Linked DNA regions of Homo sapiens: regions 1, 2, 3 and 4 are each linked to region 5. The links are contacts of gene promoters, found by promoter capture Hi-C in blood cells and fetal thymus (Javierre and others, 2016). All regions are on one chromosome and are shown on one strand. Each heading gives the region's core, a stretch centred on a gene start or on the middle of the fragment in contact. The rest is flanking DNA. Distances are from core to core; before and after follow the strand shown.

What was found. The method cuts DNA at HindIII sites, captures the fragments that hold promoters and counts their contacts. A CHiCAGO score of 5 or more calls a contact.
Region 1: a contact is called between a fragment that was not itself captured here and the fragment with the promoter of LRRN1 in region 5, in 1 of 17 cell types (M2 macrophages). The highest score is 5.6, in M2 macrophages.
Region 2: a fragment that was not itself captured here is called in contact with the fragment with the promoter of LRRN1 in region 5 in 1 of 17 cell types (M2 macrophages); the score reaches 5.9 in M2 macrophages.
Region 3: a fragment that was not itself captured here is called in contact with the fragment with the promoter of LRRN1 in region 5 in 3 of 17 cell types (M2 macrophages, M1 macrophages and M0 macrophages); the score reaches 10.2 in M2 macrophages.
Region 4: a fragment that was not itself captured here is called in contact with the fragment with the promoter of LRRN1 in region 5 in 2 of 17 cell types (M2 macrophages and M0 macrophages); the score reaches 7.1 in M2 macrophages.

What each region holds. Positions count from the first base shown.
Region 1 is chr3:3,166,887-3,172,031 of GRCh38, forward strand. It overlaps CRBN (cereblon), which reads right to left. Exons shown (of 11, transcript NM_016302.4): 5 at 748-907. Among named protein-coding and RNA genes, the nearest start is that of CRBN, 10 kb to the right of the region's middle. The HindIII fragment of the contact is 8,322 bases long and covers 1-5,145 here.
Region 2 is chr3:3,221,799-3,227,601 of GRCh38, forward strand. No RefSeq gene overlaps it. Among named protein-coding and RNA genes, the nearest start is that of CRBN, 45 kb to the left of the region's middle. The HindIII fragment of the contact is 3,186 bases long and covers 1,756-4,941 here.
Region 3 is chr3:3,206,862-3,212,103 of GRCh38, forward strand. No RefSeq gene overlaps it. Among named protein-coding and RNA genes, the nearest start is that of CRBN, 30 kb to the left of the region's middle. The HindIII fragment of the contact is 4,036 bases long and covers 232-4,267 here.
Region 4 is chr3:3,185,181-3,190,761 of GRCh38, forward strand. No RefSeq gene overlaps it. Among named protein-coding and RNA genes, the nearest start is that of CRBN, 8.3 kb to the left of the region's middle. The HindIII fragment of the contact is 1,894 bases long and covers 655-2,548 here.
Region 5 is chr3:3,796,929-3,802,256 of GRCh38, forward strand. It overlaps LRRN1 (leucine rich repeat neuronal 1), which reads left to right and starts at 2,503. Exons shown (of 2, transcript NM_020873.7): 1 at 2,503-2,991. It overlaps LOC100130207 (a long non-coding RNA gene), which reads right to left and starts at 3,947. Exons shown (of 6, transcript NR_149025.1): 1 at 3,773-3,947. RefSeq lists silencers at 2,404-2,473, 2,484-2,573, 2,714-2,823. The HindIII fragment of the contact is 7,976 bases long and covers 1-5,328 here.

The DNA.
Region 1 (5,145 bases), core at 279-2,778, 630 kb before region 5:
GATTAATAGAGAATTTTTAAGGTTACAGTGGAAACTGTCTTTCCATATTAAAAAAAAAAACTCAAAAAGCCCAATTATTCTAAATTTAGAAACTAGTAATCTTTTTCTTTAGGTAGCAATTATAAATATTAACTATACTTAAAATTGCACATCTCACAAACGAGTAGAAACAGGCTCCCTCAATTTTTTTTTCCTATGACAATTATGATTTAGTCAAAGGATATAACATAGGAATTAGTGCCCAAACAAGCAACATTTTTAAAGAGCACCTAGTCTCAAGTCAATTTCTGCGATGTCAACTGTATTTCATTAAAACACATAGCAAAAGAAACCTTTCTCTCTGGTTTGGAAGAAGGAAAACAGACTCTACTTCTCTACTACTACTCTACCCCAAAAGAATCCTCCCTTCTTTAAGATAATGGATGTTTATAACTCAAGAGCCGAACATCTAATTTGATCATAGTTTAATAAGCATTTCCCATGGAATTAAAAATCAAAAGCGATTAATATAGCTGATAAGCATAATAACAAGGATACCTTACAGCTGTGTGACATTTTATTGCTTTTGTAAACTGCTTTTACATAAAGTAGCTGCCTGTGCAATTTTTAGAGGATCAAATGTAGCTGGAATATTGCCATACAAGGTGGCTGGGTAATGAATCATGAAAGTTGTGTTTCTTTCTTAAAACAGGAAAAAAAACAACCTGTCTTCATTTTTTGAAGATGCATAAAAAATTAGTTTCTCACCTTCTGGTATTTCTGCCACCATTTATATGAACATTGGTCTTCTCTTGAGACAGGTTTTGAAGGAAATATCTGGCACTTATTGAGGGATTCTAATTGAACTGCAGACATGGTTGAAGGCAACACACATTCGGGAAGAATTTGCACTTTAGCTTGCTGGATTCTAAAATAAAGAGAACCAAGCATGGTATTCATTTCTAAGATTGACTAACTCAAAACTATAAGTTTCTAAACAGTGATAATTTTAAATACCAAGATTTTCCAAGTTTTATCTTTTAAACATATTCATCAAATACTGATGTTAAGATACAGAAACTTTCAGAAAATAATTTTATTTCATAAATCATACCAAAGTTAAAACCAAAGATAACCTAAGGTACGGATCTTCAATGTCACTGTGGAATGGAAAGGGAGATCTACACATTTCAGATAAATACAGAGTCTATAAATGAAACAAAGTTTTAAAAAAACCAACATACAACCAACTACTGCTTGATACTTCTACTTTCTTAAACATTCTTAAGACACCCAAATTCTTCTATCCCCCCACTTCTTATGCTGCTTAACTCTTACATCTATCCTTTCTCATAAGTCATCTAATCTAAGTAGAGAAAGGAAGAGAAAAATCAAGAATGCATTTACATGGATGAATTAAAATAACACTAGAGAGTTACATGCAACCTTTCTGTGTGCATTCCTTTTCACGTTCTTAAGAGTTTAACTGTACAAAGGATCAAACTATAAATTAGATTTTTTCTTAAAAGTTATTTAAAATGTCATAATAAAGTCATTTCCAAAATGCTACTTGAGAATATCATAATTGCAAACATCTTATCATGAACTAGTGCAAACAGGAAGGTTGTATCTATGAGCTATCTTCCTGTGAGGCATTCTATCTCTTAGAGTGTAGCTTCTGAAATGTAGAATATGTAACTATATTCAAATGCTAGTATATAACACTGTCAGACTGACAAAGTCAAATATATTAAAAGTCTCTGCTTTATTAGTTATACTTAAGACTTCTAAAGTAGTCTTTCATAATAACCACTGTTTGACCACAAGATATTATGGATGAAATTCTGACATTTTACTTATTTATTAGAAGGAAAAATAACTGAGTGTGTTAGAAAGTATCTAAGTTTAATTTAATGATAATAGTAGACTCACTCTACTAACTTTATTTCCTTCCTGCAAACTCATTAGAAATACTCAGAAAATTTGTCTACATGACTTCGGAAAATGTTAAAAAATTTTACTATAGTCAAATTATGGTCAAGTGTTCTTATATTATTATTAGAGCTCATTAGAAACAAAATCTCAATTTTCTTCACCTGATTCATGAACACAAATAACTTGTTAATTACATTATGAAGGTAAAAGTATATACCATCCTATAGAAATTTTTAGAAATCTGATTCTTCAAGGTTATAGGTAACTGAATTAAGAACTATGCTTTACCCAACTATTGTATAAGATTTGATTATGATAAAAACAGTAACATTATTGATCCCCTGGCTTACAGATCATGTTAATTAGTCTGCAGTACAAACTGTCTGAATTGCCTTGAAGGATTAAGGAATGCTCTCCTTTACCTGGTTAAACATGGCCAGGGTCCACTGCATATGCAGTGGCTGGTTCTTCTCCCAGCAGCTGAGTTTTGTTTTTAACATAAGCTAGTTTTTTTTCTTTCCAACTTGTTTATCACAGTTGTTTTGTGATTACAGCAACATAATTTATATAAATGTTATAAAAACCAGTGAAATATGACTTCAACAATAAAACTGCTTCAAGGAACATTAAGTTGAGACATAAACTGCTTTCAAATTAGGTACAGACTACTCTAATAGGAAAAAAACCGCACAAATCTGGAAAAATTCTGCACTCAAATTGCCTTGTGACTATCTTTAGAATCCCTCTTTAAAGAAAAACTAGCAGTATAAACTGTGGATAATGTACAATGAAAGTGCCAGAAAGTCTACAGTCATCTCCAATCTGCAGAACTGCTTCAATGGAAAGACCTTGGTCTCTCCAGATGAAAAATGAATGAATTTATAAAGTTAAAATAAAATGTTTAAGCTATATATGTGTAACATTTTGTGATTTCCAGCTTCAGCTAACTTTTTGACTAACAATTATTGGTCTCAGTCTAGACAGGTAAGAGATCTTCTCTTGTGATGCCAATAGGATATCAATCCCCTCCTCCTCTCTACATGCTAAGAAGTAGGAACTTCTGAAGAGTCCTATGTCAGTGAGACCTGTTTTTATTAAAAAAAAATTTCTATGTGTTCAGAAGATGCCCACCCCCCCTCCGCCCTCCCCAACCCACACACACTCATGACTTTGGGGGTTGTATACTTTTTTTCTTTTTTGAGATGGAGTCTCACTGTTGGCGAAGCTGGAGTGCAGCGGTATAATCTCTGCTCAGTGCAACCTCTGCCTCCCAGGTTCAAGTGGTTCTCATGCCTCAGCCTCCCGAACAGCTGGAATTACAGGCACAGGCCACCATGCCCAGCTAATTTCTTGTATTTTTAGTAGTGATGCAGCTTCACCATGTTGGCCAAGCTGGTCTTGAACTGCTGGCCTTAAATGATTCACATACCTTGGCCTTCCAGAGGGCTGAAATTACAGGTATGAGTCACCACACCTGGCCTCTGTAGTGTACTTTTAATAAATGAAGTGTCATTTAGGTAAAAGATGGATATTTATATTTTTTAATTTTTATTTTTCTATATGCTTATTTCTCTAAGAAAAACAAATGAATATTAAATATTTTACTGGAGAAAGGGAAGCTGGCTTGAGTTTCAAATGTGTTATAGAGAAATTCTGGTATAATGGAAGGAGTACCAGTTTGGAAGTCATGGGACCTAGAACCAATCAGGTCTGTCGCTTATTTGCTGTTTAAGCAAATTACTTAACCTCTCTAGTACCTGGCATTCTGATACAGAAAAAGACGAGACTGAACTAAATCAACTCCAGAATTTCTTTCATTTCACCATTTCCAGTGAAGGTGGTTACAGGGCCAGAGAAGTAGTGGAGCCAAGAGAAATCTCATTCCACAGAGGCCTTTTAAATGAAGACAGACATACCCTTATGAGAGGCCTTAATAATGGGTCTACAGAATACTAGAGAGAATGTGCCCTTTCCAAGTCTTGTCCACCTGTATCAGTTTGATGTTAATCTTTTTTTTCCTTTGAGATGGAGTTTTCCTCTTGTTGCCCAGGCTGGAGTGCAGTGGTGCCATCTTGGCTCACCACAACCTCTGCCTCCCGGGTTCAAGCGATTCTCCTGCCTCAGCCTCCCTAGTAGCTGGGATTACAGTCATGCGCCACCATGCCCGGCTAACTTTGTATTTTTAGTAGAGATGGGGTTTCTCCATGTTGGTCAGGCTGATCTCAAACTCGTGAGCTCAGGTGATCGTCCTGCCTTGGCCTCCCAAAATACTGGGATTACAGGCATGAGCCACTGTGCGCGGCCTGATGTTAATCTTTACTAGAGTCAAAAATCCATTCCTTGTCTTGTTTTCAGAGTTAACGGTATACTGCCATCTTGTGTTCAATAGTTTTTCCACAATCAAAAGTCACTAATGTCAAGACAGTCTGAGAAATATACTTTTCCCCAAGTCAATTTTCCTTAATGATTTCTATAAAAGTATTCACAAATAATCAAAATTGTATGAAGATAAGAAGTACTTTAAAAATGGAACTGTTAGCAAAATCCACAGTAACAAAACAGTTTGCTAATTATCATAATGCAGACCACCCCCACCCGCCCCAGGAGATCATTCTTTCATTCATTTATATAAAATTTATGGTCCTAAATGTAAAACATAAATAAGTCTTGGTCATTGTTCTCAAGCAGCTTATCTATTGAGGGAGACGTACATAAAATCCTGTCAGGACAGTGCAATGTGGTAAGGCTATCAAAGTTTGCACAGTGAATGTTCTGGAAAAGTACCTGGGGAGAACTAAACACCCTAAGAGCTCTGGCAATCCCATCTCACATGCCTCTATGCTCTCTTTAGCTCCAAGGAGCTACCTGACATGTCAATATTTTCATAATTCAAAAATATATAGGAACGCCCACCATGTGAACAAAACAGACAAAACGTTCCTGCCCTCATGCTGCTCACATTGTTTTTTCAGTCTTAATCCCCCACCCCGCCCAAAAAAACCCCAAAATACTCAGAACTTGCATGTGTTCAGAAGATACCACCTGGGCAACACAGAGGTCTGATGAGATTTTCAACTGTGGGTATAAATTGGAAACCAATTCACTAGTACTTGTATTGCGTACCAGGACTGTGTATCTGTGAGACCTCACGGGTGATGCCACAGTTTAGAAGCACTCCGTTAAGAGGTAATATCCAGTGATCAAGGCAAATGCTTTGTTTCCTTTTTAAAA
Region 2 (5,803 bases), core at 2,099-4,598, 570 kb before region 5:
AGAGCTGCAGGAGCCATTTACAGGCTGACAGCAGCAACCACTAAGGCGAAAATCATAGCCACCTCTAATCTGCTTCCTACTCTCTCCCACTTGGTCCTTCCTTCCCTGGCTTTCTCTGGGTGGCTGCTTTTGCATGCATTTGTGTTACCACCTGCATTTGCCTCTCCTTTCTCAGACTCCCTTCTTCTCCCCTCATTTCACTTTTCCTTCTCTCTGCCTCTTTCATCACCTAGTATTTACCCAGTACCTAATGCTTGTTAGATGCTGAGGTTGCCCATGTGGCTATGATGAAGATGGCAGGAGCCTGCTTCCTGTCCTCATGGAGCTGATGGTCAGTTGCTGAGTGTGTGTCTTCCAGGGAACCGAAGAGGAGGCAGGAGAGCTGAACTGTGATTTTCAGGGGAGGTGGGGAGTTAGGGAGCTATCTGGAGAGGCATTTGAAGGATGAATTTGGATTTGAAGACATGAGATGGGCAGAGCCTTTGAACAGGAAAGGCTAAAAACCCACAAAAGCCTGAAGCTGGGTAACTGCCAGAGAATAGAGAGCAGCTAAGTGTAACTTCACAGTAGCTGTCTGGTATACCTACTGTATGTCAGGCATGTGCTTAGGCACGTGACATAGAAAATCTCATTTAATCCTTGTTTAAGACTATGATGAGTAATTCTCCTTTACAGATGGAGAAATGGAGGCTGAAATAAATTGTGTAACCTTATCCCACAACTAGTTAGTGGTCGAATTAGAATTTAAACACAGATTCTTAACCACTAGGTTTTACTACCTCTTGAGGGGAATAGCAAGAAATCTGTTTACAGCAAAGAAGTGACAGCCAGATAGTGAAGGGTCTTGGATGCCGGTGGAGTTCCCAGTTTCCTCAGTAAGTGATGGTTATGGGTGGAGTGGGGCTCTGAAAATGTTGAAGCAAGGCATGAATACATGGTTTCATTTAATCTTTGTCTTACCTGAGTATAAATAGGCAAACACACACAAATTAAACTCCCTCACCAAGGTTAACTTTCTCCTGTCCTTTGCATCATCCTACACATCACTGATGATGAAGATAGTTCTGTCTGAGCTGTTTCGTGTCTTTCTATTTCACATCTCCTTCCTAGTGTCTTGATTACTGTTCGATACTGTGACAAGGGCGTTTTAATACAGCTAATTATAACAAGGTTCTAAAAATCCATATTTAATCCATATTGGCTGTTGCAGATCCTGTGGTGCTGGTTTGTTTTCTTTCTAGTGCATTATTTAGCAATGAAGAAATTTTCTGGCTCAGAAATTGTGGGCTCATTATCATTTTCATAGTTATATGGTAAACATATTCCCAAATTGCGATGTTAAATTTTCTAAGAGTCCCCAGGAATTTCATTTTCTTTAAAAATTTGCTTATTACTCATTCATTAAATAGATTATCCTGAAGTAGATAATACCATCTCTCGTGAATGCAAGTTTCATTACCTTTCCTTGAGGTTAATAGATGAAGGTCAGATATAAACATGCCAAAGAGCTTTTAACTCTCTTGGTTACTGGCTGTATTTTAAAATATTCCACTCAAGTTTTGATTTGGGACTTGACCTCTGAGATCTTCAGTGTAGCCCCCAAGGTAGAATGCTAAGTAAATGATCAGTCTGTCTTCAGGGAATTGGGACTTACTGTCAACAGTTTCACACATTCTAAAGATTTCTTTACTTGGGAAGAGGAAGAAGGTACTAGTTTGTTCTTATCATGATCAAAGAGGCAAATGTTTCCATTTAAGCTTAAATCAGGTTAAGATAGCATGAAGCCTCCTCATGATGAGCATATAAAAGGAGGAGGGAAGGAAGTTGAAAATAAGTAAATATATCCAGGATAATTCTTAAGCTCTAAATGTAAGAGAGATACTTGTGTTGCCTTTCCTTCTTTTCATTTCTGGCAGGTCCCCAAATTCTCTGGGTTTAAGGTCATGAGACTGCAAATAAACAGTCTGACAATTATATATACAGTAGTCTAGGGGGAAAATCTTCTGGTTTTAAGATTTGTGGTGTGCACTTCCCCAACATTGGTGGAATATCCCTGATGACACACCACCTTGGTAGGTGAAGCATATCTATTTTCTGCATTAATTCATGTATTGATTCATATTCTTCATCCCTACTACAAGATAACTGGGATGGTTAATTTTGCATGTTGACTAGACTGGGCGACAAGATGCCCAGATAGCTGGTCAGACATAATTTCTTGATGTGTCTGTGAGGGTGCTTCTAGAAGAGATTGGCATTTGAACAGTGGACTCAGTAGCTAGCCCTCCCCTATGTGGGCAGCCTCATCCAATCTGTTGGGGGCCTAAATAGAACAAATACATGGAGGAATGGAGGACTCATTTATTCTCTCTTACTGTTAGAGGGATATCGATCTTTTCCTGCTGTCAACACTCCTGGTTCTCAGGTCTTCAGATTGAACTTGAACTTACACCATCAGCTCTCCAATTCTCAAGTCTTCAGACTCAGGACTGGAACTATACCACTGGCTTTCCTCAGCTTACAGCTTGCAGACAGCAGCTCTTGGGATTTCTTAGCCTCCATAATCACATGAGCCAATCACTTATAATAAATCCTCCCCCTCTCCATATAGATAGATAGGGATGGAGATATAGGTACATATATATACCTATATGTGTACCTATATGTGTACACATACACACAGATATATACATATACACACTATATACATATATATGTGTGCATATATATATGTGTACATATATATATGTGTGCATATATATATGTGTATATATATATGTGTGTGTGTGTGTATGTATGTGTATATATATATATATATATAAAATAACCTATTGGTTCTGTTTCTCTGGAGAACCCTGACTAATACAGACACTAAATGGCATTGAAGCAATAGACTGAATCAGATAGTGCCAACTGTAGTACTCACAGTATCCTTGGGTGAAACAAATGAGTGTAAGAGGGCTATCTCCCATTTACTGTGAAACACACAGCCCTCCCTGTCTTTTTGGTTCTCCTACTTTCTCCAGGGACATGAATACAAGAAATATTTCACCTTAATTACACTGTAAGAAGACTAGCACAAATACAAAATAACAATCAACATTTTATCTTTTCAGGGAACAACAGAGCTTGATGGGACTTAGGCAAACTTCAAAGTGGGTGCTGGGCAAAAAGGGTTTGGTTGTTACCAGGCCTTAGCTGACTGGTGCAGATTGCAAATAATTATTGTAAGATCTGCTATTTTTTTTTTCCAAGAGATGTCAGAAATCTGGATTTCTATGTAAACAATCCAATTTTCAAAGCTGGCCACTAATTCAAATTTTTAAAAGTCACATAGGTTTGGGAAGAAAACATGTTATAGGCCATTTCTGAGTCATGGATCACCATTTTGAGAAGTCTGGGACAACTGGAGAGGTAGACATGCTGAGTGGGGTGGAAATGGGGAGAAAAAAGCACAGTTAGAACATGATATTGTCATCATCCTTGGAGCATGACCAAAGCAGGTACATTTACACGGTTTCCTATACCAGACAGTAAGTGTCTGCTAAATCAGAACCATATTCACTTTAGTGTAGTTAAAATGATTATTAGAATGATATGTTGGTAATTTAAATTAATTGCATAATGATCCACCACAGATTACAGTAAGTGAAGGAGAAAATAAAAATAAACACTGAGCTGGAACAGATTTGTAGGATGAGCAGAGAATGACAATTCCAGAGAAGTGGTAGATACAGAATTCACAAATCCTAGTCTCTCACCCTTTTACTGAAAACATGAAGGGGACTGGCAAAAATATGGCAAAAGTAGTAGTGGTTCTTACAAAAAGAAAAGATTTCAAATTTAGAAGCACCGTCTTCAAAAGAATCATCCTTGTTGTCTAGAAATTATTTTATTTATTATAAGCCAAATTGTGATTTTTATACTCCATTAAAATGTTTCATAGAGTTTGTTTATAACCTTCAGGCAGGTAGTGATCTCATTCAGTCTTAATTTCTTTATTTGGAAAAGAGTGATAAACACGATGGCTTCTGAAAATTCAACTCTATCATTTTATGAGCTTCTATTCCCGGAAGTGATAGTTGTCCCATCACAGGAAGTGATGCTCCACTGGAAAAAGACCACTTAAAAGAAATGCAATTAAAATAGGGACCAAAAATGTATGCCAAATTGCGAAATGTTTGATTGGAATTTTCTCTCAAAAAATGGGAAGAAAATTACAAAATTTGATTCCAAACTTACCATCATTTAGGTTATAAACGCAACTATGCATAAGATGTCAGAATGAACACAGCATGAATCAAGCAGTGATTGATTCTGGACGAGCATATTTTTTTTCTGACTAATTTCAGTGGTAGAAGATACCATATCTTTTATTTCGTGTTTGACTCTCACAGTGTGGAAATCAAGAGGGGCACTTCCATGAAAATGTTTGAAGGCTTGATCAATTTTCCCAAGAGCCTCTCTTTCATCTTTGGTACTTAACTCGTTCCCCTCTGAAGCATTTATCTTGCAATCATTCTTGTCTATTTTTCTCTTAATTGTTAACCATCTGACTTTACAGGTCCTTATGTGTCAAATGGTTTTATGTTCAATTAGAGCAGCTTTCTCTCTCTTTCATAGGTGTTACAAAATCCTGCATTTTGGGGGCAAGACTTATTGGATCTACAATTGCTTTTCATTGTTGAAGCACAGAATTGACAAATAATCAATAAGGTGCTACCTAACATAGACAGTAGTCTCTGAGTTTGTGAATGGGGCTAATTTTGTAAGCAGTCAACTATTAGTAAATATTTTTGTGCTTCCAAGACTTTTCCCTCTCTTACTTAAATAATTCTATGATAAAAAACAAACAAATATTCTTTAATTACCTGATTCTTCTCTGCTTGAGTGTTTTGTGATTCTTCTCCATTGAGTGTGTTACTTACCACACACAGCATAAGCTTATTATAGAAAAACTCTAATTTTCTCTTTTCAGTGATAGATGTATTCAATAAACTACTGTTTACTTTCTGAAGTTTATATTTGGGAGAAAAAGACAAGAAAATAAACTCATGTATTAGTCTGAACATTCAGTTTTTAGGTATGGACCAAAGTTTGTAGAATTTCAGACCAAACTGCCTGTGCGTTCTCCAACAATAAGAATTGAGGCTCAGAATCCAGACATCACACCTGCTTAATTGCATGTGGTCAATTGCATGTCATTATAGAAATACATATATAGGCGTGTGTGTGTGTGTGTGTGTGTGTGTGTATATATATATATATATATATATATATTTTTTTTTTTTTTTTTTTTTTTTTTTTGAGACAGGATCTGGCTCTGTTGCCCACACTGGAGTGCAATGGTGTGATCTTGGTTAACTGGAACCTCTGCCTCCCAGGGGCAAGCTATCCTCCCACCTCAGCCTCCTGAGTAGCTAGAACTACAGGCACACACCACCATGCTTGGCTAATTTTTGCATTTTTTGGAGAAATTGGGTTTACTATGTTCCCAGGCTGGTCTTGAACTCCCGGGCTCAAGCAGTCCTCCCAACTTGGCCTTCCAAAATGCTGGGATTATAGCCGTGAGCCACGACGCCTGGCCTATAAATAATTTTTAAAGTAAAATATAGATTAAAAATAAAAGCATAGAATAAACTAAGAGAAAAAAATTGTAGAAAATCTGCAATGAAATATTTTAAAGAGTTAAAATTAAAACCCTCAAAATCCTTGGATCAGATCCACCCACATGAGGTTCACTTTTTAAAGATGAAATGATTTTAAAAAAGTTAGCAAAAGGCCCTCACAACTGGTAATAATA
Region 3 (5,242 bases), core at 1,000-3,499, 590 kb before region 5:
GGTCTTCTGAAGGTGAACCCAGTGTCTGTTTTACTATGGCATCACATATAACTTTGGAACATATTTCTTATTTTTTATGCCATAATTATTTGTAGTTATTTCCCATCTTTCCCTCCTTATCTGACTCTAAAATTGTGCCTTTGGTAACTTAATCTTCCAGAAACTCCCTTCAAAATATTGATACATGGCCTAATAATAACAAAATATATTATGAGGTCTTATTACATACCAAGCTTTGTTGTAAACAACTTACATTGATCATTTCCTTAAATCCTCAGAGCCCTGTGGGTTAGATTCTATTATCATCCTTATTTCCTGGGTGTGGACACTGAGGTATGGGTAAATTGACAATACAAACCCCTGAGATCTGACTCCAGAGCCTAAGGGAGGGAACCCTATGCAACTGGTCCAAGAGAGATGTCCCCAAAGTGCAGTTGAAGGTTCGTAGGAGGGAAATCTCTGAGAAACACACAAAAGCCTCACAACCAGAGGGAAACAAATGCCCCAAAGAGAAACAGGCAGTTTTAAAACATCCTCCAAATCATGGCATCACCAGCTACATAAAATTATGCCCTTTTCACCTGCCTATCACCTTCTGGTTCCAGCTTGGAGGGGTGAACCCAGCTAATGAGGACCAGGAGACCCAGAAGCTCCCTACCCTCTCTATAGACTTCAGCAAAGCTAAAAAGAGCTAAAAGCATCACTAAGCTGGAGGCTGAAAATCTCTACAGTCAGGTAAGAGTTTGAATTATTGCAAATTCCTTGAATTGAGACTGTTTCGGGAACAGAAAATGATGGGGAGTTTTTGTAATTATCTGAAAGTGACCCCTGAAAGTTCTAAGATCTGACCAAGATTTCATTCATGCCATAAATTTGAACAAGTAACAGAGGAAAATAAAGTTGTCTTCTGCCCTCATATTGAGCTCAGCAGTGTAAGAAAATGGTTATAGAAATTAAAAAGTAAAGTCTGCCACCATCCAGGTTTTAGGGACTTCTAATTTTATCCAGATCTCTATTCGGCTCAATTTATCAGCTCTCAGACTAGAGGTTGGGCTATTTTAAAACTCCAAGGGGACAATATTTAATAATATATGCTGCCCAACTTCCTCCCAGAAGCGTAACAAGAAAAGGATTTCTCACAACCAAAATTTGGAGAGATGACTCAGGAGAGCCTAGTCTCATGGCCAGACTTGTGAGACAAACTGCTTTGTCTTGAGATGTCCAACTTTGAAAATTAACCAAATACACAAAGAACAGAAGAAGAGCTTGCCTTACTCAGGTATTCTGAGACCCAGGCCCCTGAAGCAGAATCTTCACCTGCCAGCTTGTTTGGTGAGTAATGCATATCCATCAGTAAGCTGAGAGTAAGTAAGTTATATCAGGCATTAAAAGAGATAAAAGTTGTGGAGCAACAGGAACTCTCATTCATTGTTAGTGGGAATGCAAAATGGTACAGCCAGTTTGGAAGGCAGTTTGTCATTTCCTCACAAAACTAAATATACTCTTAACATACGATCTAGCAATTTGTTCCTTGAAATTTACCCAAATGAGTTGAAAATTTATGTCTACACAAAAACCCGCACACAAATGTTTATGGCAGCTACAGTCATAATTGCTGTAACTTAGAAGAAACCAAGATTTCCTTTAGTAGGTAAATGGATAAATAAACTGTAAGTATATTCAGTTAATGGAATATTATTCATTGCTAAAAAGAAATGAGCTATCAAGCCATGAAAAGACATGGAGAAACTGTAAATATTACTAAGTAAAAGAAGCCAATTTGAAAAAGCTAAATACTATAGGATTCCAACTATATGACATTCTGCAAAAGACAAAACTGGATACAGTAAAAAGATCTGTGGTTGTCAGGGTTTGAGGGGAGGGAGGAATGAATAGGTAGAGCACAGAGAGTTTTTTGGGCGGCAAAAATACCCTGTATAATACTATGATGGTGGATACATGTGATTCTATGTTTGCCAAAACCCAAAGAATGTACGACACCAAGAATGAACCCTAACGCAAACTTACAGACTTTGGATGATAACGATGTATCAAAGTAGGTTTGTTGATTATAACAAATGTACCACACTGGTGGGGATGTTGATAGTTAGGGAGGCTGTGTGTTGGGGGCTTGCAGGTATATGGGAACTTCCTGTACTTTCCACTCGGTTTTGCTGGGAACCTAAAACTGCTCCAAAAAATAAAGTCTATTAAAAAAATAAAATTAACTAGAAAAAGAGATACAAGTTGAGTGGCAGACAGCCAGGATCTTAACTGAGATATCTCCCTCTCTTTATCTCTGACCTATCTCTGGCTTTCCACTTTCTTTTGCATCATTTGGTTTTAATCGAAAATGGAAGCTGGGTGCTGGAAACAGCTGGTCTATTCATTGTCTGACTCTGTCCAGGGGATACCCAGAGTCTTTGACATACCTCTGCATAAGCACAGAGCCAAGGGAGAGACCTGGACTGATTCCAAAATGTAAAGAAGAAGCTGGAAACTGGCAGCCTACAGGTTGAATTCTGCCTGCAGGTATATTTTGTTGGTCAGCAATTTACTATATTTTTAAATATAAACTACTTGCCAACATGTAAAATTGTAAGTTTCATATAAAAACATACATTTCTGGCTTTCTTCCTTTTTTTTTTTTTTTTTTTGAGATAGAATCTTGCTCTGTTGCCCAGGCTGAAGTGCAGTGTCACGATGTTGGCTCACCACAACCTCCCTCTGCCTCCTGGGTTCAAGCGATTCTCCTGTCTCAGGCTCCCGAGTAGCTGGGATTATAGGCACATGCCACCATGCCCGGCTAATTTTTGTATTTTTAGTAGAGATGGGATTTCGCCGTGTTGGCCAGGCTGGTCTCGAACTCCTGACCACAGGTGATCTGCCCGCCTTGGCCTTCCAAAAGTGTTTCCAAAGTGCTGGGAATACAGGCATGAGCCACCATGCCCTACCTGGCTTTCTTTCTTTCTGTCTTTTTTAAATCAGAGCTAGCAACAAAGATCCCACATTTCCATTAAGCAATTGCTGGCTAAAGCTGAGCTATTTCAGTTATGTCATCTCTCTGGCCCCTGAGGCAAGAAGGTCTGAGACCTCTGTTGTAATGGGTTTCATCTATTTAAACAATGACTTGGAAGTAATTGTTTGGGTAATAATGATGTGTCAAGATTACTTGGAATTTTCTAAACTGTAAAATCCACTTAGAATAAGAAAAGCATAAGCTAGTATATGACAGATCTGTTGTTCCCTATAGAAAAATTATGGAATTTTCTAAAAAGTGGAAATGTATAGATTATCACATGAGCTTCTACTGAATTACCAGCCAGTGAATATGCAAGAGGTAGCAGAGAGCTGTGCCGGGAATCAGAGTGCTGAAATTGTATTTCTAGTCCAACCTTTAGCTATCTGGGTGACTTCAGAATAGTCTCTTTAATTTCTTGGGCTACAGTTTTATTATTATTATAACACTAGGGATTGATGTAGCCAATGTTCCCTAACGAGTTTTTCTTAAAACACCCATATCTTAAAAAAATCACTGTGAAAATAGGGTTCCATTTGGGAATGCTGTGTCCTTTATCTATCTGGCTTTGGAGGACAATCCTTGAACATTGGTATATTCAGGAGAGGTCCTATAGGGACTGAAACTTGGCTAACTTTGTTTAATCTAGTGCATTTTTCAAATTTACTTGACAAAAACAGCATATTTCTGAAAGACAGCATCTATTAACATGGCTCAGAACTTACATCCTGTGGCACACACTTTGACGAGTCGCAGCTACCCTGAAATCCATTCAGCCTGAGGATCCAATGGTCCTGTGAAGATTTTTAAGTATAGTTTTAGAACTTCAGGATTTTGCATTTCAGGATGTTTATAATTAATTCTTTTGCATTTTATCCATTTTTTTTTCCCTGGAGATAGAAGTCTGTTTTTCTCCCTTAAGGTAACTGTGAAACAAATTAGCAATGGAAAGTATATTCTCTCTGCATTATCTGAATTTGATTTTCCAAGGTTTTCCTTCCTTCTCTAAATATAATGGGTGCTAATCCCTTCCAAAGTGACCATTATGCTGCTAAAATATTGAAGTCTGGCAAAGGCAGAGCTGTTGTGGAAACATTAAGAAAACATAATTACCGTACAATGGCACTGCCTAATTTGCATATTGTTGAAATGCATCTTGACCAGAGAAGACACAATTCTCAGAAAATATTTTCTGTGTCATAATTTCTTTCCCCTTTGTTTTTCTTATACACCTGGGGCTGATCAGAAAGCTTTATTACACAAAGTTGAAATAAATCAAGATTTTTAAAAATCTACTTTCCATGAATGAGGCAAGTTTAATCTTTTATGGTACCTCAGGGGTGAGTTTGGGAGCCCTGAAAAATATAGCTCCTTCTGGAGCACTAAATTCCTTGAAAGAGCTGATGACAATGCTATTTCCTTCCAGATGATGCGACAATGCACACAGGCAGAAAGGAATTAGCCTGTGAGCCTATTTCACCACATATTAAGCTAACCATTCAGCGTTATAAGGATGAATGTAGATTTATATCTTTAAAACAGTCTGAATGGGAACATTCAAATTCTTCATATAGAGCTCTATTTTTTTTCCAACAAAGGCAGAGGTTGCTGCAGGTATTCTTTTCAGTGTTGAACTCAACTCTCCTTGTTGCCATTTTTAAAGAGCTCGATGGCAAGGGATTTGGGATTGACAGCAAGTGACTTCTTACAGTGCTTTAGTTCACTTTTGGCAGAACAGAGGATTACTCTCTGCTTAGAAAGAGACTTGAGTCTAGCATTTAAAAAGGATTTTGATAGTAATAAACCACAGATCGGGAGTCCAGACCATTAAGATAAAATTTGATGGGGATGCATATATAGTCTTTTACTAAAGCTCGGAGAAATAAATTGCACAAATGCATGATGGGTATCTGGACCAGGGAATTTCAGTTAATCACACGCTCATTGCAAGCCAGCAAGTTGTTAGGTTTTATTAATAAAAACACAATATTTAACACAATATGGGAGGTTTCTGTCCCATTACCATCTACACTGGTCAGTCCAGATCTAGACTACTAATTTAATCCCAAGTGCCATATTTTCATGGGAACAGTGATAAATCAGAGAGTATATAGAAGAGGTTTGTATTAGTCTGTTTTCACACTGCTGATAAAGGCATACCAGAGACTGGGCAATTTACAAAAGAAAGATGTTTATTGGACTTATAGTTCCACAAGGCTGGGG
Region 4 (5,581 bases), core at 352-2,851, 610 kb before region 5:
TATTGCAGAGGGGTGAACACAAAGCAGGGAGAGAGGAGACCTCAATTCTAGTCATTGCCTTTTTTCTACCTGTAACTTTGGTTGGGGTATTTCAATGTCTTCCTCCCTGGACTTGTATTCTTGGTCTTGCACATAAGGGTTTACAAAGGCCAGGATATGTGAAGTTTTGCTACAGTAACAAAAATTTCAGCAGCTTAACCAACAGAGGTGTATTTTTTGCTCAAATCAAATGTTCTATGGATTTGGTGACTCTCCAGGGCATCATGTTCTCTGTTGACAGATCACCAGCGAAGGCTGCTTTGGTCTTGTGGAAACTTCACATCAGTATGTGCTTCTATAATCGCAGATTGCCCATGGCTGAAGGAAAAAGCTTGGAGAATTGAACACTGTCTCTTAAATGCTTCTGTCTGGAAGTGAAACATATCACCTTCACTCATATTTCACTGGCCAAGGTGAATCCCAGGGCTCAGTCTAACTTCAAGGGAGCAGAGTAGTCTAATACTCTGTGTAGAAGAAGTGGAACTTGGTTACATTTGTAATGTCTGCCACAGGGTGGTACTAACTTTGTGATTTTCATATCTGTGTACATATGTTGATATATGCATATATACATACAAATGTAAACATGTATACACATATATATTCACATATATAAGCTTCAAAATTATTTGCTCAGAGGAAATCTTACATGGAAACGTAAGTATAACAAATGAAAGAACTACTGAGGATGATGTTCTTGGCTTTCATCACCCTTCTATACTTGAGGAAGACCAATGTTTCACAATCCCTGGACAGTTGTAAAATGCTATGATGCTATTCAGTGGTCAGAAACAGAATAACTTAAGAAACTCGCTTAAAAATAACAGACCAGCACAATTATTAAAATCAGATGTAAGTAGAATCATGTAACTGAGAAGACCTATACTGTATGAAAAAGTTAACCAACTCACAAAGAAACTGAGAAGAGAGACAAAAAACAGGTCAAATCCCAGTCTGAATAAATATCATTCCCAATAGCATGAAGAGGATTTGGGTCCCCAAATCCTAGTAAATATACCCTTTGCTGCAACTGACATTAGCTTACCATTTGTATATGAGGAAACAGAAAAATTTAGATCCCAGGTGTTAATTGGGGAAGATATTGCATATGAAGTTATTAATGGATGCATGAGCAATGTGACTTTTCATTAATGAAAAATAGAAAAATGGATATAAGAGTCTAATAATGTGTTTCAGTAGAGGAGCTAACTGAAAAGTCGTAAGACAGAAAAAAGCTAAAGTGACTTGCAAGACCAAGATGAGAACAAAACTCCAGTGTGTTCAGAGACAAAAACCATGCTAATACTGTAGACTCTGAATTACTTGTCTATTCTTCAACTCAAATTAATTAACATAGTCACTATATGTCTCCTATGCACCGGGTATTTTTTATAGGAACGAGGGGTACAGCAGAAAAGAAAACAGAAGAGTCCATTACCCTGGGTGAATGAGGCTAATAAGCTAGCAGAGGAGAAAGATGACTAAAATGTAACCTTTGCCCTGGGCTGGATTACAGCTTGAGGGTAGAGGTTGGGAAGCAGACATATAAACAGCATAACAGGTATCTAGTTAAGTAGGATATATTATATGTTTTTTCTCCAAAGAAACAGTATGAACCATGGTGGTTGCTGGTGAAGGAGTGCAGGGATCATCTTAGAGAAGCAAGATTAAGTAGAGGGTTTATTTCAGCCACACTGCTTCAACTGCTGGATTCAGCATGAACACCAGGCTAGTTAGTGTGGTGGCAGCAGCAGCAGAACATGGAGGCTTCTCTACCAACTAAATTTCAGGGATGTCATCAATTCTCTGCGTGTACCCATAGCAACAGCTACAATCAGAGCAATGAGCAGTTGGTAGGCCTTATAGTGTACGCATCTCGGATATACACACACTGAAAGGATTTATCACTCATTTTCCTTCATAAAAATTACTTGTATCTAAGATATTAATAAAAATTAAGGATCCAAAATAGGAAATCTCATGATCTAAAAGGATTAACCTTTATTTTTTACTTCTAGAAATCTATCCCATGGAAATAATGCAAAAAGCAGACAAAATTGATCCATAAAGATGTTTATATCAACATTATTTGAAACATGCAAGACAGAAAGAAGCTAAATGATAAAATAATTTGTGAGTTATCTGATATCTTTCCAATAAATGATTTCTCTGCTTTGGTAAGCCAGAGTCAGTTTCTGTTGTTCATTACTGAAAACCCTGACATACAGACACACACACACACACACACACACACACACACACACACACACACACACTCACGCATGTCTTCCCTGTCCACTTGTTACTGGGGCTTAGATCCAATTTAGTCCACAGAGGTGCATGCTTAGACAAAAGCTGTTTTTTTTCTCAGCAAGTTGTATGCTTATTGCATCTGTGTATATATACGTTAAAAAGAAATGCACAGACAGAATAATGCACACCAAAATAAATACTTTGAAACAGTGGGTACTTCTGGATACTAGGAGTTTTTTCTCTACTGGCTTCTAAAAGCTTTCTATTTTTCTAAGACATCATAATTATAAGAAATTATAAATAAACATAATTATAAGTAATTACTTTCATTATAAAAAAATTAAAAGGAGGTATGTTTTCTTCCAAAGAGGTCATACTAGTAGCTAAGACACACATATACAAATAATAGTATACATCCCAATGTGGCAAGTGCTGTCTATAAGAACTTTATGTTATAAGAGTATACCACATAGCAAATGACTTTAACTTTACTGGATGGAGTCACATCCTGGACCTGAGATCCATTCCTGTCTGAACAGGATCCCTGTAAATAGACCATAGCTTAGGCCCAGTATCAGGCTCTAAAGGTTACCATTGTTTTATTATGAATCTCCTACATACTTGGGATTTCTGGTAGCCTGACAGAGTACTTGCTTCTAAATTAGAAGACTTAGTTCAGGTTCTGTCACTCATGAATGAACAAACACTTGTTAAACACTTACTCTAATCCAAAATCAATATCTGTGTTTTGCATATGTTCCTTCATTGAACTTTACAGCCATCTTGAGAGGTTGGTGCTATTATCCCTATTTTTTGCGATCACAAGTCACTTTCTCCCTTTGAAAACACAGGTTCAGTATAAATGATTTTCCAGGTCTCAATCAGCTTTCATTTTTTTCTACAGCTTTGTGAATTTAGTCCTCTTCATATCTTAACTCACTGTGTGTTCCTTAACTTTTGACCTATTCACTTGGTCCTTCTTCCACCATTGCCTGGGTCAACCTCCAGATTCTTCCTCTTGCTTTAGATTTGTGGTCCTATTCTTGCTTCTTTCAGTCCTATGTGACACTGCTCAGCTTCCCCCAAGACAGACGCCAGGGACGAGACATCAAGGGGTCTGGGAGATAGGGAGTGGATGTTGGTCTCAGTGTTTCTCAGGGTAGGGCTATGAGGCCACTGTACTCTACAAGGGGTCCTCCTGGATAGATACAAATGTATCCCTGAATGTTAAGTCTTTTCTTTGGGGACTGAAGACAAGCCTGTGGACTTTCATTTTGATGTGCAACTAAAGATTTTTTTATTAATACAAATTTAAAATATGAATAACTAAAACTTGGTTTTCATAAACAAAAATTAGGGCATTATTAGAGTTTGCTATACACTTTCATTTTATATTGTTTCAAGAAGTCTGGCAGCCAACCAATGCTTTGACAATATTGCAAAGCTTCTACTGAGACTGTGCAGGCATAGACCAAGGGGTTCCCACAACTTTCTGGAAGGATACTGTATTACTTATACAGCGTCAGCACTGTCTTAAGTTGGTTTGGGTTTGGGTTGTTGCTCTTATTGCATTAATTAATAGAGTTGAGAAAAGTATTGGAACTTGCTTTTGTTGTTATGTTGGTTGACTGATGCATTTTTAGAGATTTTATTGTTACTACTCCAATTCTTGGTCTTCACAGAAGTCTTTTGCTCTGCAAAGCAGGAATGCATAGGATAGGGAGGGTTAGGTCTTCTGCTCTGCTGTAATGAGTCAGCATCTAGAAAGTCAGAGCACTGCTGATTTACAGTCCAGCTGGATGTCTTTTGAGCTTCATCACATGGCCATTTTCCTGTTGGCAGGAGTCTCTGTGCTGGCTGATGACCCTTAGGCAGCCACCATATTCTGATAAAGCAAATTGACTGTGCTGCTTTAAATTTGTATCATGCCTGTTGCTGAAAAAGTAGGGAATCTGGGGATTATCCAGGCCCCTCCAACAAGCTCTCTTCACCAGGTTTGGGCAGGAAATAAGAGAGTGGTGAAGCTCTCATTATTCTGAAACACTTGAGCATGAATCTTTCTGATGACAGAGATTGGCCCAATGCCTCGGGCAGAGATATAATCAATGAATACAACCAGCAATAGTGCTTATAATTTAACCTTTTTTCTGCAAAAGGATTTCCTGGCTCACTCAGCTCAAATGTCTTTTCTTCCAGGCACTTACCACTTTATTTTGAAGTTTTATTTTTCCACATCCAGTTCCACAGCTCTGCAGAATGTTGGTTGAGGTTAGAAACCACGCCTCACTCATCTTTATATGCTCAGTGATAGCACAGAGTGAAATGTTGATAAACAATTGTTGGACTGAATTTAACTCAGAGGAGAAAGCCCAGCTTATGTCTACACAGTCATGATATGTGCTATTCGAATGATGGCTTAGAGTGAGAACCCAGTCATCAGTAAAAGTAGTATAGACCTCCAGTCCCCAGGATAGGACAGAAGAAACAGGGCGATATTGAAGGTAATGAATCCAACAACCTACATGTGTGGAATGCTTTCCACCAGCCATGCTCTGGGAGAGAGATTTTCATTCATTATTTGAGTTAATCCTCCAGATAGTCCCAAATATCTGCCTTACAGATAGTTGTTATCTGTAAGGCAACTTAAAGGCAACCAGAGAGTCAAAGCTCTGTGACTACTTAACAGCATCAAAGTAGCAGAGCTGGGAATGCAAATTCAGAGAACTTGATAACTCCATTAGAAGACAATGAGGGGAATTAGTTGCTGAGAGGAGGAGCACACTGTGTGGGAGGAGGTAAAGGACAGAACATGGGAAAGTTATGATGTAAGCCTTGGCAAATGCAAGAGGCATTTCTTCACTAGAAATAGAAGGGAAGAATGAATGATGAGGTAGGGTTTGGGCAACCTGAATAATGGTCCCCTGAAGAAATCTACATCCCTGTGAATACATCACTTTACATGGCAAAAGAGGCTTTGCAGATGTGTTAAGTTGAGGATTTTGAGATGGAGAATTTTTCCTGAAATATCTAGATGGGTTCAATCTAATCTCAGGGGTCCCTATTAGAAGGATGCAGGGCTGGACACAGTGGCTCACATCTGCAATCCCAGCACTTCCAGCAATTCGGGAGAGCAAGGCAGGAAAATCGCTTGAGTTTGGGGGTTTGGGACCAGCTTAGGCAACACAGTGAGACTTTGTCTCTATTAAAAATAAATTAGCCAGATATGGTGGCATGCACCCGTAGTACCAGCTACTTGGGAGGCTGAGGCAGGAGGATTGCTTGAGCCCAG
Region 5 (5,328 bases), core at 1,253-3,752:
AAGTAAGAGATTTGGTTATGCTGGTTCATTGATTCCTCTTCGTCCAATGATGCAAAAATGCGTGTTTCCTCTTCATCCATCCCAATGACAAGGAGCTTTTAAGTGTCAGTTAACAAGACAGTCCCGAAACCCCTTTGCAGAGTTAAAAAAGGGTAATTTCTAAAATTTGGACCAATTACCAATTCAGGCAATTCAGCAAATTTCTAATAATTACACCACATTTCAGACTCTTTCATAATTGTCATGCTCATTTTTCCTCTTCTGTCCACAGCAAGCCCCATCCTCTCACCCAAATTCCTTCCCCCATCCCTGACACACATTTCTTCCTAATGATAATGCTCTTCTCTCTGTCTGGAACCAAATGCATGCAGTGGTCAAGTAGAAATGGGAAAAGCTGCCTTTCTCACTCTTGCCTTGGGGAAGAGGGAAATTAGTTTAAATAAATGATATGCTAATTTGAAAAGAAATGAATCGAACAGTGGAGAGACAGAGTCCATTTCCTCCACTGGAGCAGCTAGTGCCTTTGAGATATTCTGTCACATGCGGAATCATTATCCCACCTGTCTGAATTGATGTCTTGTTTTAGTCTTCAATACCTGCCTAATAATGCCTAGAGCTTACATCTGTCGTTGAATGCTTACTATATACTAAGCACTGTCCTAAGCATTTTACATGTTTACTCCCACTTAACCATCACAATCCTTTGGGATAAGTACTGATATTAACCCTACTTTAGAGCCAAGGAAATTAAGCCTTAAAGAGATAAAGTGACTTGCCATTAGGGACACAGCTCATAAATTGCAGGGCTGGGACCTAAGCAGTGTTGGCCTGGTTTCAAAATTCACACCTTGGTCCCTGACTCACACCATTCTCATGAAGTCTCTTCCAAAACCTGGAGGCTGTTCTAGATCTGGCCTCCCAAGAGCAACTCTCACCATCATTAATTGCTCCGACTGCTCCTCCAAGACCTACCTCTGTAAAGCTCCTCCTTGAAGGGCACAACCTCATCTCTCTTCCACTCCCAGGAAGGCAGGCTGGAAACCTAATAGAGACTCCCTAAGAAACCTGCATTCTATCTTTCCCTGACCATTCAATTTCCGTACTTCCACCAGAGCCCAACTTCTATCAGACAAACTCCATGCTATCTGCATGCTAACTCCATGGATAATCTGCATGAAAAGGGGGGAAAGAGACAAAATCATGTTACAAAACTTGGGCAAGGGTCTAGACTCAACTTGCTTTGAAAGATCTTAAATCTTCCCATTCATTTGTAGACAGCAGTGGGCCTTTTTCTTCCTCTGCTCTGCACGACCTTCTAGCCCAAGTGCTAGTATCACCTTTTCCTAAAGACTTTTAAGACAAACTGTGACCATTTATGTCTACATGACACAGTTTCAGGATAACAAAGTGTGAAGACACACAAAGACGTCAAACATTTATCAGAGACCTAAGCGAAACGCCAATAAATGTTACAGGGATCAAGAATATGGTTACTGACATTGAATGTATCCTGTGGCTTTGAAGAATCCAAAGGATGATTCTCGAATAATGTATCCTTCCAAATTCTCCAGAAGTTCTAAGTTTAGACATCATAATGAAATGTCACCACGTTCCTCTGCCAGAAGTTGTTCAGTACTGAGGGGCTAATGATGCTTTCGCTTAAAGCCGATTCCCCCAATAAAGGGTGCCAAGGCTTTTCTGAAGCCCTGCTTCCGGCTGGCGACTTTGAAGCTGAGACGCAGGTTCACGCGCAGTTTCCGAAGACCTATTCCGTCCCCACCCTCCTCCCCTTCCTCGGAGACACCTCCACTTAACACTGCCTTCTCAGTCCCTCGCCGCCTGTTTAAACACAACTTCCACCCCTCACAAATCAGAAAGCTGTAATTTCAAAGTTTCAGAAACGTTTTCGGAAAGCCTCCTCCAATGGGAAGCGACTTCGCCGCTGAGTTAAGCGTCCGAATCCTCCTTCCCGCGGCAGGGACACCGGCCCGGGCCAGGTCTGCGGAGGACGCCCCCGGGCGCGCACACACAGCCCGAGGACGCGCCCTGTATTTTAAGACGCAGGGTCGGATTTCACCCCGAAACTTGGCTCCCACAGCCCCAGGCCGAACTGTGTCTGGTTCTCAGCCCCCGAGCCCGAGTTCTACGCCGCAAAGAGATGGGGCCCCATTGTGCCTAGCTGGCCTCCTAGCACGGACGTGTATTTTCTTTTGGTCTGTCTTTTGCTAAAAACCGGCAGTGCGCTTCGCCTCCCTGCCCAGCCGCAGCCTGCCGTCCCCTAGACAAAAAGCGGCGACCGCGGCCCGGCCACCCGAGCCCCGCCGCGCTGCGCCTTTGTTGGGCGGTCCACAGATGGTGCCCAGCACGGGGCCGCGCCGAGGGCGGGGGCGGGAGGCCGCGAAGAGGGTCGGGCGGGAGGGGAGGAGACGGCGGAGCAGCCAATCCGCGCGCGGCCCATCAGCTGACCGCCTTTGCTTACACCAGGTGCACGCCGGCTGCGGGGAGCACAAAGCGGGGCGCACCGCGGGCGCCGGCAACGAGCCGGTGAACGAGGCGAGGCCCGTGCGCCCGCGGCTGCAAGCGCCCGCCTGGCGGGGAGAGGGGCCGACGGCGTCAGCCCGGGCGGCGGCATCCCTAGGCGCCTGGGGCGCCTTCCTCCGGACCTGGCCGCTCGCTGCCCCGCCCTCTGCACCCCACTTCTCCGACCCTCCTTCCCAGTCCTGCCTCCCCCTGCCCTGGCCTCTGAGAGCCGACTGAGCCCAGCCCCGTGCAGCAGCGGTTGCCTGTGTCGCCGCCTAGTCTCCGGTCTTGGTGCTCTCCCGGGGGTGCCCCAAGGAGCCAGTGCGCGCTGCGGGCTGGGAAGGAGGCGCCGCTCAGCTAGTCCTCCTCCTCCTCCTCGTCTTTCTCCTCCTCCTGCTGCTGCTGCCGCCGCCGCCGCCGTGGGTGCCGGGTCCGCGCGCACCCCAACACCCCCACCAGCTGGGCCTCGGGGTAAGTCCCTGGCCGGCCGCGCCGCGGCAGGAGGTGTGGGAGGCAGCGAGGGGAAGTCGAGGCAAACTTGGTGGCGTGGGAGACCCTACGGGGTCTGGGGAACCTCAGGGTAAGATCGCGGGCCTGAGGGGGACGAGGGGGCGCGGCTCACGGAGCTGGGGAAAATGACGAAGTCGGGAAACGAGAATATAGTGCCCCGTTTCCCCCCGTCCCCCTTGCCAAAAAAAAAAAAAAAAAGGTGTGGGAGAGCGATAGTTGGGAAGGCAGGCCAGATAGAAACAGGCAAAAAAAGGCAGTGACCGGAGCCGAGCCTGCTGGATTTCAGGGGCCGACCAGGGGAGGGAGGTGCCCGGGGACGGGGAGGGAGGAGGGCTGCCGGGATGTGAACCGGGGAAGGCAGCTGGGGCTGGAGAGCAGCGCGGAAAGGGGGCCCAGGGAGCTGGAAAGAGGGCCAAGAGGAGGGCAAGGAAGGTGGCGGGCGACGGGGAGAGGAAAGAAAAAGGGTGTCTTGGCGGTGGCCTTGGTAAGAGAAAGGGGCAAGGGGTATAATTGACAAGGCACTGAAAGTATTGAAGTCAGAGCCTTGGGAAGGATCTACCGAACTCTCGGCGGTCCACGCGGGGACAGACCTCAGCCCGTGAGCCTTGAGCTCCACGCGGGGACAGACCTCAGCCCGTGAGCCTTGAGCTCCACGCGGGGACAGACCTCAGCCCGTGAGCCTTGAGCTCCACGCGGGGACAGACCTCAGCCCGTGAGCCTTGAGCTCCACGCGGGGACAGACCTCAGCCCGTGAGCCTTGAGCTCCACGCGGGGACAGACCTCAGCCCGTGAGCCTTGAGCCCAGAAGGAGTGGCAGCCTCAGGACGTTTGCCAGGTGGCCTGGAATGTGAGGGAAGCCTCAGCCCCGCCAGGAACAGAGCTGGCGCTGAGTTCCCGGCTCGGCCCGGGTCAGAAGCGAGGAAAGTTTGCCGGCGAGTGTCCTTTGTGCTGCGTGGAGAGGGGTGTGGGCGGCCGCCGACTCGGCGCTTCCCCGCCGCCCGCCCAGGGAGTCCCTGCCTGGCAAGCTGGGGCTCGGGGAAAAGTCCAGCAGCGAGAGGGCCGCGTGTCCCGGGACGGTTCCAGGGGAGCCCGCGCGGAAACGCGGACCAGGCGCTTCGGCCCGGATGCCGGATCCAGGAGAAGGGGACCTCGCTTGCCGTGTCCACCGCCGCGGCCCCAGCGCCAAGAACAGAGCCTGGCCGTGAGTGAACGACTGGCCGGGGTACAAATGGTTCTGAAGCACTTGAAGCTCACAGGCAAAGGCTAAGAGTCTAAATCCCATCCCGCCGTAAGTATTTTCATTCCCAAACCTAAATCGTAAAGGAAAAGTGGAATTCTAATTGGGTGAGGGAACAGGTGCTGCCGACTCTGGCTTTTGCGTGGAGGATTTTCTAAAAGACAACATGTTTTGTTTTGTCTTGCCATGACAATCTAAATCATGTTAGTGGAATAGGCTCATTATTTCATTTTTAAAAGCTAGGGCTGGAGGAGTGGAAAGTTCAGGAAGGCACTTTGATCAGTATAAATCTAGAGTAAAAGTGTTATTGGCTCCAGGGCCATATGTGTCCCGAAGTCTCTGATTTGCATGCAAATGTGAGCGGATCCTGGCAGATGTCTGGCCTCATCCATTCACATGAAGGAATTTGAAAAGACAAGGAGTCTTCAGTTAACAATAGACCTTAAGAAAAGAGAATAAAGACGCAGTGTGAGTTTTTCTGTTTGGGAATTCCATGGTTTGCTGACACCTTTATTCAGGAGCCAAATTCTTTAAGTGCTATTGTATTGAAAGCTCAAAGTGCTGCTTGCTCTTTACCTGGCTGTATATATTCGTGCAATATTCAAGCTGGATATTCTAAGCTAGTTAGGAAAAGGTTTGTGTGAAGCAGACAGTAACTTTAACCCACTTCTGGCGGCTTGAAGTGATTTCTGAATTGACCCCTCAACTTTTCGAGTTTTCTTTTAATAATTTGACTCTTGCTCAAATTTGGTCCTCATCTTCAGAGCTATTCATTATAGTAGAAGATCGTTGTCGTTGACCGACATGAAGATTTCCTGAGAATGTCCACTGTCTAGCTGAGAATGTCCACTGTCTAGCCAAAGTCATTTCGGTTCTTAAGGCACCAAACTGTAGAACTGCAGGTGATGCAACTGTCCCAACCCTAGTTACCCGAGTGGTTTTCAGGTCACATAACAGTGAACGGGGAGGTAGTCGTGCAGTAGACTCTGGAGCAAGGGCCTTTCTGCCGTGTCTAACATTAGCTGCGTGACCACACTGCACTGTTCACCTCTTGGCGTTGT